Regions from separate parts of the Homo sapiens genome. Here regions 1, 2 and 4 are each linked to region 3. The links are contacts of gene promoters, found by promoter capture Hi-C in blood cells and fetal thymus (Javierre and others, 2016). All regions are on one chromosome and are shown on one strand. Each heading gives the region's core, a stretch centred on a gene start or on the middle of the fragment in contact. The rest is flanking DNA. Distances are from core to core; before and after follow the strand shown.

Region 1 (3,587 bases), core at 55-2,554, 600 kb after region 3:
GTCTCCACCACCACTGGGTTTCTGGGTGTATTAGTCTGTTCTCACATTGTTATAAAGAACTACCTGAGACTGGATAGTTTATAAACAAAAGAGGTTTAACTGACTCGCAGTTCCACAGGCTGTGTAGGAGGCATGACTAGGTAGGCCTCAGGAAACTTATAATCATGGCGGAAGGCAAAGGGGAAGCAAGCCCATCTTCACATGGCAACAGGAGAGACAGAGCAAAGGGGGATGTGCTACACACTTTTGAACAACCAGATCTTGTGAGAACTCACTCACTATCATGAGCAGTGGGGAAATCCACCCCCATGATCCAATCACCTTCCCTCAGGTCCCTCCCCCAACATTGGGAATTACAATTTGACATGAGATGTGGGTGGCGACACAGAGCCAAACCATATCACTGGATATATGTTTCATATTCTCGTGGTTATTCCCAACATGACACTTAACATATTTCCAAATTTAACATTATATATACTCGTTAGCATTGCCAAATATTAAATGAGTTCATCTGATTTTTCAATACATTTGCTTTCGTAGCCTTTGAATTATGAAGAAAAGCAACAGATGATCTTGCAAATTGGTGTAGTTAATGAAGCTCCATTTTCCAGAGAGGCTAGTCCAAGATCAGCCATGAGCACAGCAACAGTTACTGTTAATGTAGAAGATCAGGATGAGGGCCCTGAGTGTAACCCTCCAATACAGACTGTTCGCATGAAAGAAAATGCAGAAGTGGGAACAACAAGCAATGGATATAAAGCATATGACCCAGAAACAAGAAGTAGCAGTGGCATAAGGTACTTACCATTCTATTTTAGTTTTAAAATATATAGCTTATTTTGTTACGTTATTATAATTTAGCATATGATAAATTTTATTATTTTAATTCATCATTACCAACAGGTATAAGAAATTAACTGATCCAACAGGGTGGGTCACCATTGATGAAAATACAGGATCAATCAAAGTTTTCAGAAGCCTGGATAGAGAGGCAGAGACCATCAAAAATGGCATATATAATATTACAGTCCTTGCATCAGACCAAGGTAAGAATTTGTCTTTAAGCCAGCTACATACTTCCTTGGCTACATACATCTTCAGTGTTTAAGCCAACAGTATACATTTTAAAGCTGGATACATGCACTCTGTTTTCATATCTCTTGATAATATAAAGTAAGAGGTTTACTATAATTTATTAACTCATGTCTGCTTTCTAATAGCCTTCTCAGTTTTAGATGTAATTATAAAATAATTTACTCTTAGAAACACTTGAGACCATAATTTATTAAAGTTAAAATTATTAAAAATTGAGAAAATTATTTTAGTAAAACTTGTTTCAGCTGGGTGTGGTGGCTCATGCCTGTAATCCCAGCACTTTGGGAGGCTAAGGCTGGAGGATCACTTGAGGTCATGAGTTCGAGACCAGCCTGGCCAACATGGTGAAATCCCGTCTCTACCAAAAATATTAAAAATTAGCTGGGTGTAGTGGCATGCACCTGTAATCCGAGCTACTCGGGAGGCTGAGGCAGGAGAATTGCTTGAACCCAGGAGGTGGAGGTTGCAGTTAGCCAAGATCGCGCCACTGCACTCTAGCCTGGGCGACAGAGTAAGACTCTGTCTCAAAACAAAAACAAAAACAAAAACAAAACAAAAACAAAAACAAAACTTGTTTCAGTTTATCTACTTATTTCGCTTAAAGTGTTCACTTTGTAGGAAAGTGAGAACATACTTACATAGTGCAGTCCTGGAAAACATACTTACACAGTGCAGTCCTGGAAAACAGCTCTAACTTTTTACAGGAAGCTAACAATATACTTGGGGGTTAGAATTCTGATTAAAGACATTATATAAAAATAAATCATGGTATATTTATGATCATGGTAAATAAATAGTATATTATAAAATTAGAGAGACAAACACTATGAATTCATATAATCATATAAAATGTAAAATTATGTTCTGTGCATTCTATAAAATTGAGAGAAATATGAGTATGATGATTATTTATGAGACGCGTTTGGTGCATAAAATATAATTTCTATAACATGAATTTGAACTTTATGTCTTTGTAAAATAAATATGCTAAATATAACAAACAAATTATTATACTATAACTTGCAAAATTAGAATTTAGAAGTGATTTTGGAAGATGATTTATGTATTCCAGTTCTCTGTAAATTAATGAGAAATGACTCAGTTTGTTAAATTGCTGAAGTTGTAATCATTATTGATTTGTCTTTAACTAATTAAAGACTGTCCTTTAAGGCCTCAGATTCTCATGTCTTTTTGCCAAGAAATACTTGTTGGTCAAAGGCAAATGAAAAGAAAAAAAAAACATGAAACTCAACGGCACTTGGAAATAGTTTATTGACAGTTGAGATAAAAATTGCTGTCTGAAATTAGAAATTTTGCCTATAATTTTATTCTACATTCTCGTCTGTTGCAGAGGAGTTTAAGTGATTGAGAGATCAAATATTTGTTATGGAATTGAGATGGGGCACTGCTTATCATCATTGTGATATAGAATAAATGTGTAATGAGGCTGTTCGCATTCATTTCTTTTGAAGAGGGTGGGAGTCATTGTGTTACTCTGTGTGAGAGAACTGTGAATCAGTAATTCCACATGTGTTTACTTTGTGAATTGAATGAAATGAGATTATACAAAAGTGTGTCATTTTTTGAAAAACCTTTTTCTAAAATCTATACTGGCTAATTTCATTTGGGTTCTCCCTGCCACTCCCTAATGGAAACCTCTCCTCCCTCATGGATACTGCTGTCTTGGGCTGGTGCTCACTTCCTGCCTTCCTACATCTCCGCAGCAATTGCTTCCTCTTTTTAAAACTCTCTCTCAAGGCTTCTATGTCTAAACTTGCCCACACATTCCTGCATGCTTTCTGGTCTTAACTGCCTTCCCCTCTCCTAAACATATATATTTCTTAAGCTTTAAATTCAATTTATCTTTTCTTCTTAACTTCTTAATCTAAATTGTGTGGGCAGCTTTACCCAGAAATCACCTCTATCTAGTTGAGCTTGAGATTAATGTTTCTATTGTATTATTCCAGCTGTTAGAATGGGGTTACTTGCAACTATTTTAAAACATTTGACTGAAGAGCATCATGCACATAAAGCATGAAACCATGGATAGTGCACCTCATGTGACTTCATATTTGGAATTAGCCTTTGTCCATGTAGAATTATATTATTACTAGAAGATGAGCATTTTATGCTGACATTCCAATGAATAAAACAGTATGTATAACTCATCAGCATATGAAAAACAGCTATGAAACACAGTGGATTAGATATCTGAGGTCTTAAATGTTCTTCTATGACAGTATTAATCACAATGTGCAAAAAAAGATTGGAGTTTAATCAGTGAGCAACTGTAAACATCTACTGGAAGGAAATTGAAGCATTTATCCCAGTTGTAGAAGAGCAAGCACTATAGAGTTCAGTTTTTAAAGATAGCACAATTAACCAGATTCAATAGGTAAGGCATGTGCTCTCAATTGTGTGTGTGGACTCAAAGGGAAACAAATGTTCAAGACAACCAGCAGTCCCAATTTTCAGAGAGAGCAAGGTAA
Region 2 (3,529 bases), core at 969-3,468, 690 kb after region 3:
TATATATAAACACAAAGTATATATATACACACACATATACACAAAGTATATATATATACACACAAAGTATATATATATGTACACAAAATATATATATATACACAAAAGTACTTACAAGGCATGTTCTTACCTCAAAAAGATGCCAACTTATTTATGAGAAATAGATCCTACTTTATGGAAAAGCAAAATAGGAACATGACAATAAACCAATATGATAAAGCACTGTCAGAGTTCAAAAACACCTATGATACCTAAATGTACTCATGTAGTTTGGATCAACCAGAAAGGCTGGTGACAAGAGGTACAGCTTACTTGGTAACTTAAAGAATAAGAAGGGTTTGAAAGTGAAGAGACGGTGAGAATAGCTAAAGAAGAGGAAAACAGCATAGCCTACAAGACAGGAGATGATAAAGTTTAGGGGCTATTTAGCAAATAATAAATAAATTGATTTAGAATAGAAGAAATCATGTGTTGGAAAAGAGGCTTGAAACAAGTTCGGTGTTAGAGAAGAGAATATTAAGAAACAAGTGGGAGATAGGACTTCTAAATGCTGCACTAAGGATTTCGGATTTATTCTCATGGTAAAGGAGAGCCAGCCAAGGCTTTTCTACAGGAGAGAGGTATAATCAAGCAGCGTGAAGCTGAGTCAGTAGGGGGATCAGTGAGAATAGGAAGACATCAGGGTTGGGGAAGATGAAAGCTTAGTTTAAGCATGAGTTAATTCTACCAGGATGATGGTAATTGTTATATTAAGATAGGGATGAATAAGAAATATTTCAAAGGTATAAAGGATAAGCTTGTTGACTGACTGAACTTAAGGAACAAAGTAAAAAGCAGAGTCAAAGTGGCAGAGGCTATAGCCAGGGACAACGACTACATATCCAGCCTTTTCTATGTCTCGGGGTGAAGATGCCTTTCTTATTCACTATTTCTCTCTTCAACTCCTCCACACCACCATGCAAAATCATAGCCCATCTATGCTTGACGTGCCTACATGTAGAAACCTGTGATGATCTCTCCAGCGAGAAAGCAGGTTTAATCCCTTGACAGTCCTTGACTCATAGTAAGTTCTTATTTTATTTTTAAGACCGGCATGGATGACTTTTACTTAATATCTGTTCTTTGCCATTTAATGCTAGAGCTGATGATATTGAGTGGCCATTTCACAATATGTACCTGTTCTGTGTTAGGAACACTTCTAAAAGGGGCTTGGAATTATTAATTTATACAAAAACATAAAATTTCATCTTGAATCTATAAACTTGCTTTAATACAATGAGTAAAAGTGATCATTTTAGCTTTGGATCTGAATTTCACTTGAAGGCATGCACATGGGATTAGGAGTTGGGTGAATAATCAGGACTGGAAAAGTAAACCTAGAAATTATTGACATGGATAAAGAGTTGTTGATACCCTGTGAGAAGGAACTTTGGGAAATGTGGATGGAGGAGGACAGAAAGGAGCAGAGAATAAAAGTATGAAAGCTAGCCCTGTAGGCTCAGCATTGCTTTTAGTTTATTTTAAATTCCTCTTTTATTCACTTAGAAATATGATCTTTGAACTTGTGTTTATTACAACGAAATTATACCATCAAGAAGATTTAATAATTAGGAGGGTTTTTTTTTTTCCTTTTTTGTAATTGAATTTTATTGTAATGGCAACTTAAATAAAAAAATGTAGGGTAGCACTGCCACCAAATGGCTACTTTTCAATTCTTTTTTTCTGGTATTTTTTTCTAAGGCAATGCGACAGTAAGTATGACTTTTGTAGATATATTTCAGGTTCAATAAATCATCTGTATTTGAAAAATCTTTCAATTTAGTTAAAGACTGCATTTTAAGTAGAAAAAAATTTAAATTGATAGGAAGGTGGCACAAAGGAACCTGAATGTAATGGAGGTTCTTGTCCTGAAAGTAATGTAACTGTTTGTAATGAAAACTGACATGTCGAGGTTACCACTGTAACTAAACTTCTGTCCTATGGCTCAGAGGGTCGGAGTGAAGTTCCAGTATTAAGTTAATGTTTAATGAAGACTTTTTCATTTTAAAGCATTTCCTTGACTCTTTGTCATCCTCTAGTTCCCTCCACATCTCTCTTTTTCTTTCAAACTGAACTTTAGGAAAGAAAAAATTATATTTGATTTCTCTATAATACTCCTTCCTGCTTACCCAGCACTCCCTGGAAATTCTTTTGGCAAAGCTCATCAATGGCTATTCTTTCACTTAAATCCAATGGGCGCTTATACTTTAATTGAACCCATTCTTACCTTGCTGTGATTTTTCTGTTGTTGTTGTTAACATCATTGGCTGCTCCCACTCCTTACCATATTCTCTCTTCATGGCTTCAGGGTCCTGCCACTTTGGTTTTCTCTGTTATCTCAGTGGCTATTCAGATCTGGCCTGTCACAGCTGTGTTTCTCTTACCCTCCCCTTAAAATGTGATTTTTCTTGTGGTTCTATCCTTAGCCCTTTTTTATTTTGGTTGACAATTTTCTCTGGATAGGTCCTCTATTCCCATGGCCTCAACTATCACCTATTTGGGAGTGTCTCCCAGAATTATATCTCCAGCTCAAATCTCTCATCTGAGTTCCAAATCCGCATATTCATATATTCATCTTGGACATCCCACATGTTTCTAATGTTTACCATGTTCAAACTTTAGTTGCTCACTCTCCTCTTGCCCATAAGCACATCTTTCCTCCCTGTTTCAGTGAGTTGTACCATCTACCTGTTTGCCTTCATGGAACACAAAAGAATAATTTCTAACTCTGTCCTTGATTGCCTCATCCATCTAGATACTTGTAGGCTCTCTGTGGAGTCCATCTACTTCTTTCAGTCATCACTGCTTCCTCCTTGGCTTAGGTCCTTATCATTTTTACCTGGAATATCAGATCAGATCAGATGCAGTGACCCCCATCTGATCTCCATGAACTTAAATTTGTCTTCTTATTTGTCTTCCACATTATTGCCTAGAATGATATTTTTGAAATGTGTTTCTCTCTGTAATGAGTTAAAATTCTTCACAGTCCCTGTGATCTTCATAATAAAGTCTATTTTTTTAGCATAGCATATAGATCTTTATATCTTATGGCCTTTTATAACCTTTCTAACTCCCCCCAACCCTAATCTTATGTGGTAGCTGTTCTCAACTGATTGAAGTTGGGGACCCCTGAAGGACATTGTTTGCCTTTTGCCTCCAGACCCTTCTACAGTGGTTGCCTTGTTTGTCCCACTCCTACTAGTCCCTAGTCTCTTAGCTCAGAGTTTTTCCAGTTACCTGTTCTATTCCACCTACCCTGTTTGGATTTGAATTTTAATGCTCTACTTCTGTGCTCTTGTAACATTTTGTGCTCACCCACATAGTAGAGTAATCACATTCTCAAAGTATTTGTTTTTCTCTCTCCCTGGAATAAGATCTTCTTGGAGCCATCGAGAGACTATGTCTATCTTTATATCCCTAGGCTTTTGCATTTGCTATGGTGAAATTTGTCCCTAAAAGCTGATATGTTGGAAACTTAATCCCCAATGCA
Region 3 (3,528 bases), core at 384-2,883:
CAGCAAATAATGGCAGTAAGGCATCCCGCCACTTCCTGCATGATTAGTTGAAAAAGAAACACCTGCGCACACACATTTGAACAATGTGATACAGCTAAGGACCTGGACAGTCAGCTAGCAGGAAGAAACATTTGAACGAAGGGTAGACCACGGCCTAGGAGGTGGATGAAGACACCCGTCCGTTTGCCTACTGAAGCAAGATGGGGCTGAGGCGCTCAAGGGCCTATTGGCTGCCCAGAAGCCTTTGCAGCGCCGCCTGAATACAGCGAGGATGACCCAGGGTTCACCTTCAGCGTTGAAGGCAAGTCCTGGTATAAGGGACGCACATAGGTCCGCGCCACATCCTGACACTGTTTCCACAGGAAGTGCGGGATAGGAGGGGGGATTCATTAATCCAGGTCGGAAATACACCTTGTTCCTCGAGGATTTTGGAAGGAAATTCCACCCGCGAAGTCCCCTTTTGGAGATGCCCTTTTCCTTTCAGGTACAGCATCCTTCATTATGTACCCCCAGGGTACAATGTATCCGGGGCTCGCAACGCGTCCCTCAACCCCCAGCAGCGCGGTCACCGCGGGGTCCCCGGGCGGGCGGGGGCGGCGGTGACGCAGGAGGCGGTGGGGCCCCGGTGCGGCGGGCGCGGGGAGGGGGCTGCTGGGCGCGGGCCTATCAGGACGCGCGGTGTTTCGGGCGCGGGGAGGGCGGGGACCTCCAGGTTTCCTCGGGGCCCGGCGCAGCGCCGCCTGCCGAGTTCCGAGCGAGCGCGCGAAGCGCGCAGGGGTCTCGAGACGTTCCCGCCGGTCCCGGTTTTCCTCCGCGGCTCCCCCGCCCCTTCACGTCCGCCTCTTTCTCCAACCAGACGCGGCTCCGACGGCGCTCGGCCTCTGCTCTTCCGGCTCCCCGGCTCTGCCCGCAGCGCGCGTCGCCCGGTTGCTCTTCGCCTGGTGTCCGCGGGCCCGGCGGGGGCGCCTCACCCCGGGCGCGCGGCGGTAATGCCGCTGCCGCCCTTGCGGCCAGGCAGGCAGCTGGCGGCGGCCGGAGTCGGAGCGCGTTCGTCGCTGGCCGGGACGCCGCCCTGGCCTGTGCTCAGCTCCCGCGGCGGCCGCGGGGCGCCGGGGCCCGGCGCGGCATGAGGAGGCGGCTCGGTGCAGGCGAGCGCCCAGCTCCTCGGCCCCGAGGGCCCCCGCGGGCCCCCGCGCGTGGCGCGCGCTGGTTGCGGCCCCGGCGCCCACGCTAGCCCCGCGCAGGCAGGAGACGCCGCGGCCCGGAGTAGGAGGCGGCGCAGGGCCTGCCGAGCGGACGCGGGCGGCCCGGACCTTAAGCACGGGGCTTCGCGGCGGGACCCCGCCGGGCGCGGGCAGCGGAGCCGGGCGTGCTGCAGTTAGCTGCCCCTCTCCGCAGGGGCGCCGCGGCGCGCAGCCTGCGCCTCCTCCCACCTGCAGCCCCTCCTCCCGCCGCTGCTTGGCGGAGAAAACGCTCCTCCTCGCCCTTCCCCGGCTTTCTTCCGTCCTGCCGTCCCCGGGCCCCTAGCCCCCAGTCCCCTCTCCCCCCTCCACCTCTTGTCCCTCGGCCTCCGCGCCTCCCCTCCCCCGACTCTCTGGCCTCCCATTCATTCCGTCCGCTCCCTCCCATTTCCTCTTTTCCGCTCGGGCCCTCTCCCCAGAGCCTCCCCGCGCGGACCCCGCTGCAGTCTCGGGGTTCTCAGCACATTTATGGAAGTTTAGGGCCTGGACAGTGGCCCCGAGTCCGGCCTGAGAGCGCAGCCTGGGCTGCTGGCAGGGAAGAGGAAGATGTCTGTGCTCAGGCGGATGATGCGGGTTTCCAATCGCTCTCTCCTCGCCTTCATCTTCTTCTTCTCCCTCTCTTCGTCCTGTCTGTACTTCATCTATGTGGCCCCAGGCATCGGTAAGCACCGAGACACACCCTCGCTTCCCCTGGTCACACCACAGCCAGCGCAGGCTGTTATCCGATGTTACTTCTGGGATTTGGAAGCTGTTCAAACAGGGGCCCGCAGAAAAGCGTTTTGTTTTAAATGTTATTTCAGACGTGTCAAACTGCTTCAGGGCATGGCTTTGGTATGTGAGTTTTGTTAATGCATGCATTTTGTTAATGCATGTTTGTTAATAACGTAAAAGATTGCATTAAATAGACGTAGCAAAATTAGTGTGATGGCCCGGGATGCCCTAGTCGCTTTCTTGAGTGTTCATGACAGCTTTATCCATTTAATGTTAAGTCTTTAAGCCTAAACTGAGTGCTTAATCGTAGTTTTATTCAAACACTCTCGGGTATAATAACTGGTTGTAAAAATATGGAGGAGCCAGCAGCAGGGAATGTGATTGAGTCCAACAATGTGTGTTTTCTAGGGTCCTAGGTCGCTTTTTTAGAATGGGGTCAGTGGACCCCATTCTTTTTGTGCCATACTTGGGGAATTTTAAGGCGATGAGTTGTCTTGTAAAAACAATGCTCCATTATTTTAGTCTGCTTGGGTGTTATTTTCAAGGGTACGTTGCCTTTGCTACCTGTTAGGATGACTTCTGAGAAAATAGTGATTAAAATAACCGTTATCTAAGGGAACTTGTAGTTTAAAATGTTAACCGGTTTATCATTTTTTGGCCTTTGGTGCAAAATACACTTTTGTAAAACTGCTTGAATTAACTTCTTTATTAAATATCCGAATTCCTCGTCCCCCATTTGTTGAAAAGGAGCCAATGCGGCGTTAATTCTAGTGAATGAGAATTATGAACTTCACATGCATATTAAAATATGTCATATTTCCAAAACTTTTCTGAGTTTTTCCTGGCTATTACGTATTTAATGTTCAATTACTTAGTAACAGTGAGCATCTCCTCTCATTTCTCCTTACACACTGTGGTCGTTTGAGCCAGTGCTCTTTGTTCCGAGTTAGCTAAAAATGTAATGCCCCTTACAGAGTGAAAACACCTGCAGAATTTTCAGATGGAATGATCAGGGCATTGTCTTGAGTGTAGTAGATTATTGCAGTGAATTGCAGCAGGGAAGGAAGATGGAAACCTAATCCAGACTGCTTCATTTCTTAAAATTACTATGAGACTTTTTCTTTAATAATTAATTTTTGGATTCAGTGAGGTGTATAAACTCAGATGATGATGTTTAAGAAGAAATGCATTGTGAAACGTTGACGTATCCCAAAATAGAAGTTTTAGGGTAAAGTTTGAAGAATATTTTAACATTATTGCAGTTTTCCTTTAGGCCAGAAAAAACAAAAAACCTCACAAAAACCTACCCCTTGAAGCCTATAGTACAAATGACAGTGGTAGCTTAGTGGATTTGATATTATCTAGATACTCAACAAGAGCTTTCTTTATTTTTTGCCATTTTGGAGTCTTATAAATTAACTCTTCATTCTATAGCAATTTTTACTTTCTCATGTAACTCTTTAAAAGTTTGGACATCTTTGGGGTATGTTTTTTTACTAGGAATTTAACTTTGAAAGATTTTGGAGAAAGTTTTTTTCACACTTACATAACAATTTTCCCACTTTCTTAGTATTAT
Region 4 (3,445 bases), core at 309-2,808, 720 kb after region 3:
GCCAGTGAAAGTTCTTACATACAGATTTTAAGAAAGATCACTCTATTGGAAATAAGGAGGGCTGGAAAGACCGAAGACAGAGGAACTAGTTTAAGGACTATTATAATCATGTAGTTAAAGGGCGATTTTGGCTTAGATAAATGGTTCTTCGTTCTGGCTACATAGTGAAACATCTTGGGGATCTTTTTAAACTTACAGATTCCTGGGCTCCACTCTGGATGAATTAAATCAGAATCTGGAGGTCTAGAACCTGGCATTGGTATTTACAAAAAAAAACCCCAAGGGATTGTACTATGCAGCAAGTTTTGAGAACCCACAGCTCAGCTTATGATAGTTACATCAGAGATAAAGAGTGGGAGTTGAATTTGAGGCATTTTTAAGGTGTGAATTTCAGAGCAGTGTATATACATTACTGTATGTAAGAATACCCAGAAGATCTTGAAAACTACAGATTCCGAGTCAATAGGTCTGAAGTGAGGCCTGAGATTCTGCATTTCTAACAAGCTCCCAGGTGATGTCAAAGCTTCTTGTCCTTAGACCATACCTTGTGGAGGAGGATTATGCATTTTGCATAGGGGAGAGAGGGAGAAAAAACATCAAGAATGATTTATTAATTCTGACATTGGTGACTAAGGGAATCTGATCATAAGAATTTAGAGAAAGATCATGAACTCAGTTTTGAACATATTGAGTGTAAATGTGCCCATGAAAAATCTGAGAGAACATGCAAGTTCTATAGCTTGGAGGAGGTGTCTGTACAGGAGACAAAGATGTGTGCATCATCAGCCTTCTGAGAACAGTTGAACCACAGGAGTTGATAAAAATGCCTGGGTATAGTGTGGAGTGTGAGGTGGGCTAAAGACAGATCCTGAGAAAAGTAAGAAGAGAACACTAAGGTGAAAAAATAAGATTTTTCCAGGATATAGGAGGATAACCAGTAGGATGATATGTCATAGAAGCCAAGGGAAGAGAGAGGAATTCAATAAGAGAGCAATCAACTCTGACAAAGTCTGCTTGAGAGTCCCCATAAGATTACTGAAAGAGGCCCATGCAATATCGCAATAAAGAGGTCACAGATGAACCTAGTGAGAGTGGCTCTGGAGTCCTTGTTCTGGAAAGCCGACCACTGTGAGTGGACAAGTGGATGAGTACCTGGAGGCAAAGAAGTATTAAAAATAGGACCGTATTTCTTAGCCATGCTGCCTGGGCTGTGGAGGGAAGAGGAAGAGATAGATGGTAGAGGTAGTCTCAGGGGGCTAGGGAAGGTTTCTTTTTGTTTTCTTGGTTTTTTTTTTTTTTTTTTTCCTTTTACTAACTAGATTTGGCATTAATTTTGATCATCTCTCTTTCTAAGAGTAGGTTTATTATCTCTTTTATTTGATTTCGGCCTGACTCATTATCTTAGTTTACACTCTGCTCCTAGTTTAAGTCATTAAATACATCCTTAACATCTTCCTGTTACTAATTCTGTCCTTAGTTTTGAGTATAAATTGTTCACAAATGGCCTTTAAATTCTTTCAACATTGACAGTCTACCCTGTTCCCTGGTTCCCAGCTTCCCTGACTATTTTTGTTGCCTCTTCTCATGCAAGTCTACCTCAGAACATCTGTTCTCAGTACTTTCTTTGTCTCTACTGAACCTGAGCTGGTAGTAATTTCCTTACTCAGGGCTGCTCTTTTTACCCAGAGTTCTATAATCTAACACATTACAACAGATTTTTGTCCTTGATTGTATATCAGAATCACTTTAAAAATACAGATGACTGGGCTTCACCCAAAGTCATTTAAATCAGAGCCCCTGAGGTGGGCCTTGGGCCCCAGCATGTATTTCTTGTGTGTGGTTGATGTGGTGCAGAAAGTGCTACCCCAAAATAGGGCTCTTTGGCATTTGAGGAACCAGCAGAAGCAGGAAGGCCACTCTCACTCTTCCTCCTCCATTATCCCCTGAAGCAGGTCATAAGACCTAGGAAACCTCTCCCATCTATTCCGCTGCTTCTCCTCTGAACACCCTCATTTGAAAGGTGTCCTGCCCTAAAACCGGAGGAAAGGCATGTCACTCAGAAACACCAAGAAGGATCTGGACAAACAAACCTTGTCAACTTCCCTTCAATTTCTTACCATTCAAACTTCTGCATGACTGTCCATAACAATACATGGTTTTCCCTGGGTCTTTCTGTCTTCATTTTTGAAGGCTGCCATGACATGAACAACTGCCTTTTGTCATGAGGAGTCAGCAATGCACCTTATGATGGGTGAGAAAAAAATCTGTTCTCCTCTACACAATCAGGTTTGAGAAGCACTGCTTTATAGGCGGTGGAACGTTGTTTCTTCTGCACAATTCAAAGAAAACCAAAATACCTATTTTAACAAGTTAACAGATTTCTTCATCTATATCTAGATGAACATATTGATCTTAGGAATGTTATTTTTATAATATCACAAAAACTTATTGAAGGAAGACAGAATTATTATAAGCAGAAAGTGTATGGCTAGGATAATTCCTGGAAGGAAGTGTGAATTAAGACAGGAAGGGGAAATGAGGGAAACGTCTGGAAACAATGTCTCAAGATTGAAGAGACTAAACAGAAGCTTGGAAAGATACTAGTATCAAACCAGAAGGACCTGGAAGAGTGACAATGAAACTGTAGCTAGGATAGGGGTCCAGGGGAGACAGATGATTTTGTAGAATTCCATATTTATAATAGGGAGAAGCAAGTTAGCTTAGAGTTTCAGGTGGCTGTTAGGAAACAACTCTCTCCTCCAAACATGAAGTTATATCTGAATCACTGACTGATATAATTTTGCTTTCATCAAGAACTCAAGAAATATTCAGGCTGGAGCTAAACCATGTTAGGAAGGAGAAAGCAAGGTTTTTCAAATCCTTATCACCTGGTTCTTTTCTAATAATTTGCCAACATATATCTCATTTGTACCCTGAATGCCTACTTCATTGACAAAGATACATCTTCCACTCCTTATGGTTAGTTGCTCCTAATGAAAGAGTAACGGGAAATGTTGAAATATTAAGCTTAATTCCAGCATGAAACTAAATAGAACTTCCTGTATTTCTTTGGATAACCATGGCATCTATAGACTAGGAAGAATGATTGTTTTGAAGATTTGGAATACCCAATTTTTTTATTTTGTAGACAACCTTTTAGGATACTTGGATATGAATGACAACTTCTCACTTCAAGGTGTAATGATTCATATTCATTTTATGATTGAGATATAGATGGTTTAAGCCAATTATGTTTAAACTTCTATTTCTGGCTGTGCTTGTGACCATTGATTAATTTGAAGAGTTTGTTTCTACTATGGGCATAGATGACCCACCAGTCAGCTGCTAAATGATCACTGCAATTTATACACAGACACTCAGAATTGTATTTAGTAAGTACAAATGACCAATTGAAACCACCAAATTTAAACGGTCTTTCAGGACT

What was found. The method cuts DNA at HindIII sites, captures the fragments that hold promoters and counts their contacts. A CHiCAGO score of 5 or more calls a contact.
Region 1: a fragment that was not itself captured here is called in contact with the fragment with the promoter of B4GALT6 in region 3 in 1 of 17 cell types (M1 macrophages); the score reaches 6.5 in M1 macrophages.
Region 2: a contact is called between a fragment that was not itself captured here and the fragment with the promoter of B4GALT6 in region 3, in 1 of 17 cell types (M0 macrophages). The highest score is 5.6, in M0 macrophages.
Region 4: a contact is called between a fragment that was not itself captured here and the fragment with the promoter of B4GALT6 in region 3, in 1 of 17 cell types (M2 macrophages). The highest score is 5.9, in M2 macrophages.

The regions. Positions count from the first base shown.
Region 1 is chr18:31,077,309-31,080,895 of GRCh38, reverse strand. It overlaps DSC2 (desmocollin 2), which reads left to right. Exons shown (of 16, transcript NM_024422.6): 10 at 544-800; 11 at 907-1,049. Among named protein-coding and RNA genes, the nearest start is that of DSCAS, 22 kb to the left of the region's middle. The HindIII fragment of the contact is 3,284 bases long and covers 1-2,946 here.
Region 2 is chr18:30,997,548-31,001,076 of GRCh38, reverse strand. The region is part of intron 14 of DSC3 (desmocollin 3); the gene reads left to right. Among named protein-coding and RNA genes, the nearest start is that of DSC3, 43 kb to the left of the region's middle. RefSeq lists an enhancer at 3,317-3,529. The HindIII fragment of the contact is 2,840 bases long and covers 799-3,529 here.
Region 3 is chr18:31,682,686-31,686,213 of GRCh38, reverse strand. It overlaps B4GALT6 (beta-1,4-galactosyltransferase 6), which reads left to right and starts at 1,633. Exons shown (of 9, transcript NM_004775.5): 1 at 1,633-1,902. The coding sequence starts at 1,788. RefSeq lists a silencer at 497-1,536. The HindIII fragment of the contact is 10,803 bases long and covers 1-3,528 here.
Region 4 is chr18:30,961,894-30,965,338 of GRCh38, reverse strand. No RefSeq gene overlaps it. Among named protein-coding and RNA genes, the nearest start is that of DSC3, 79 kb to the left of the region's middle. The HindIII fragment of the contact is 2,065 bases long and covers 526-2,590 here.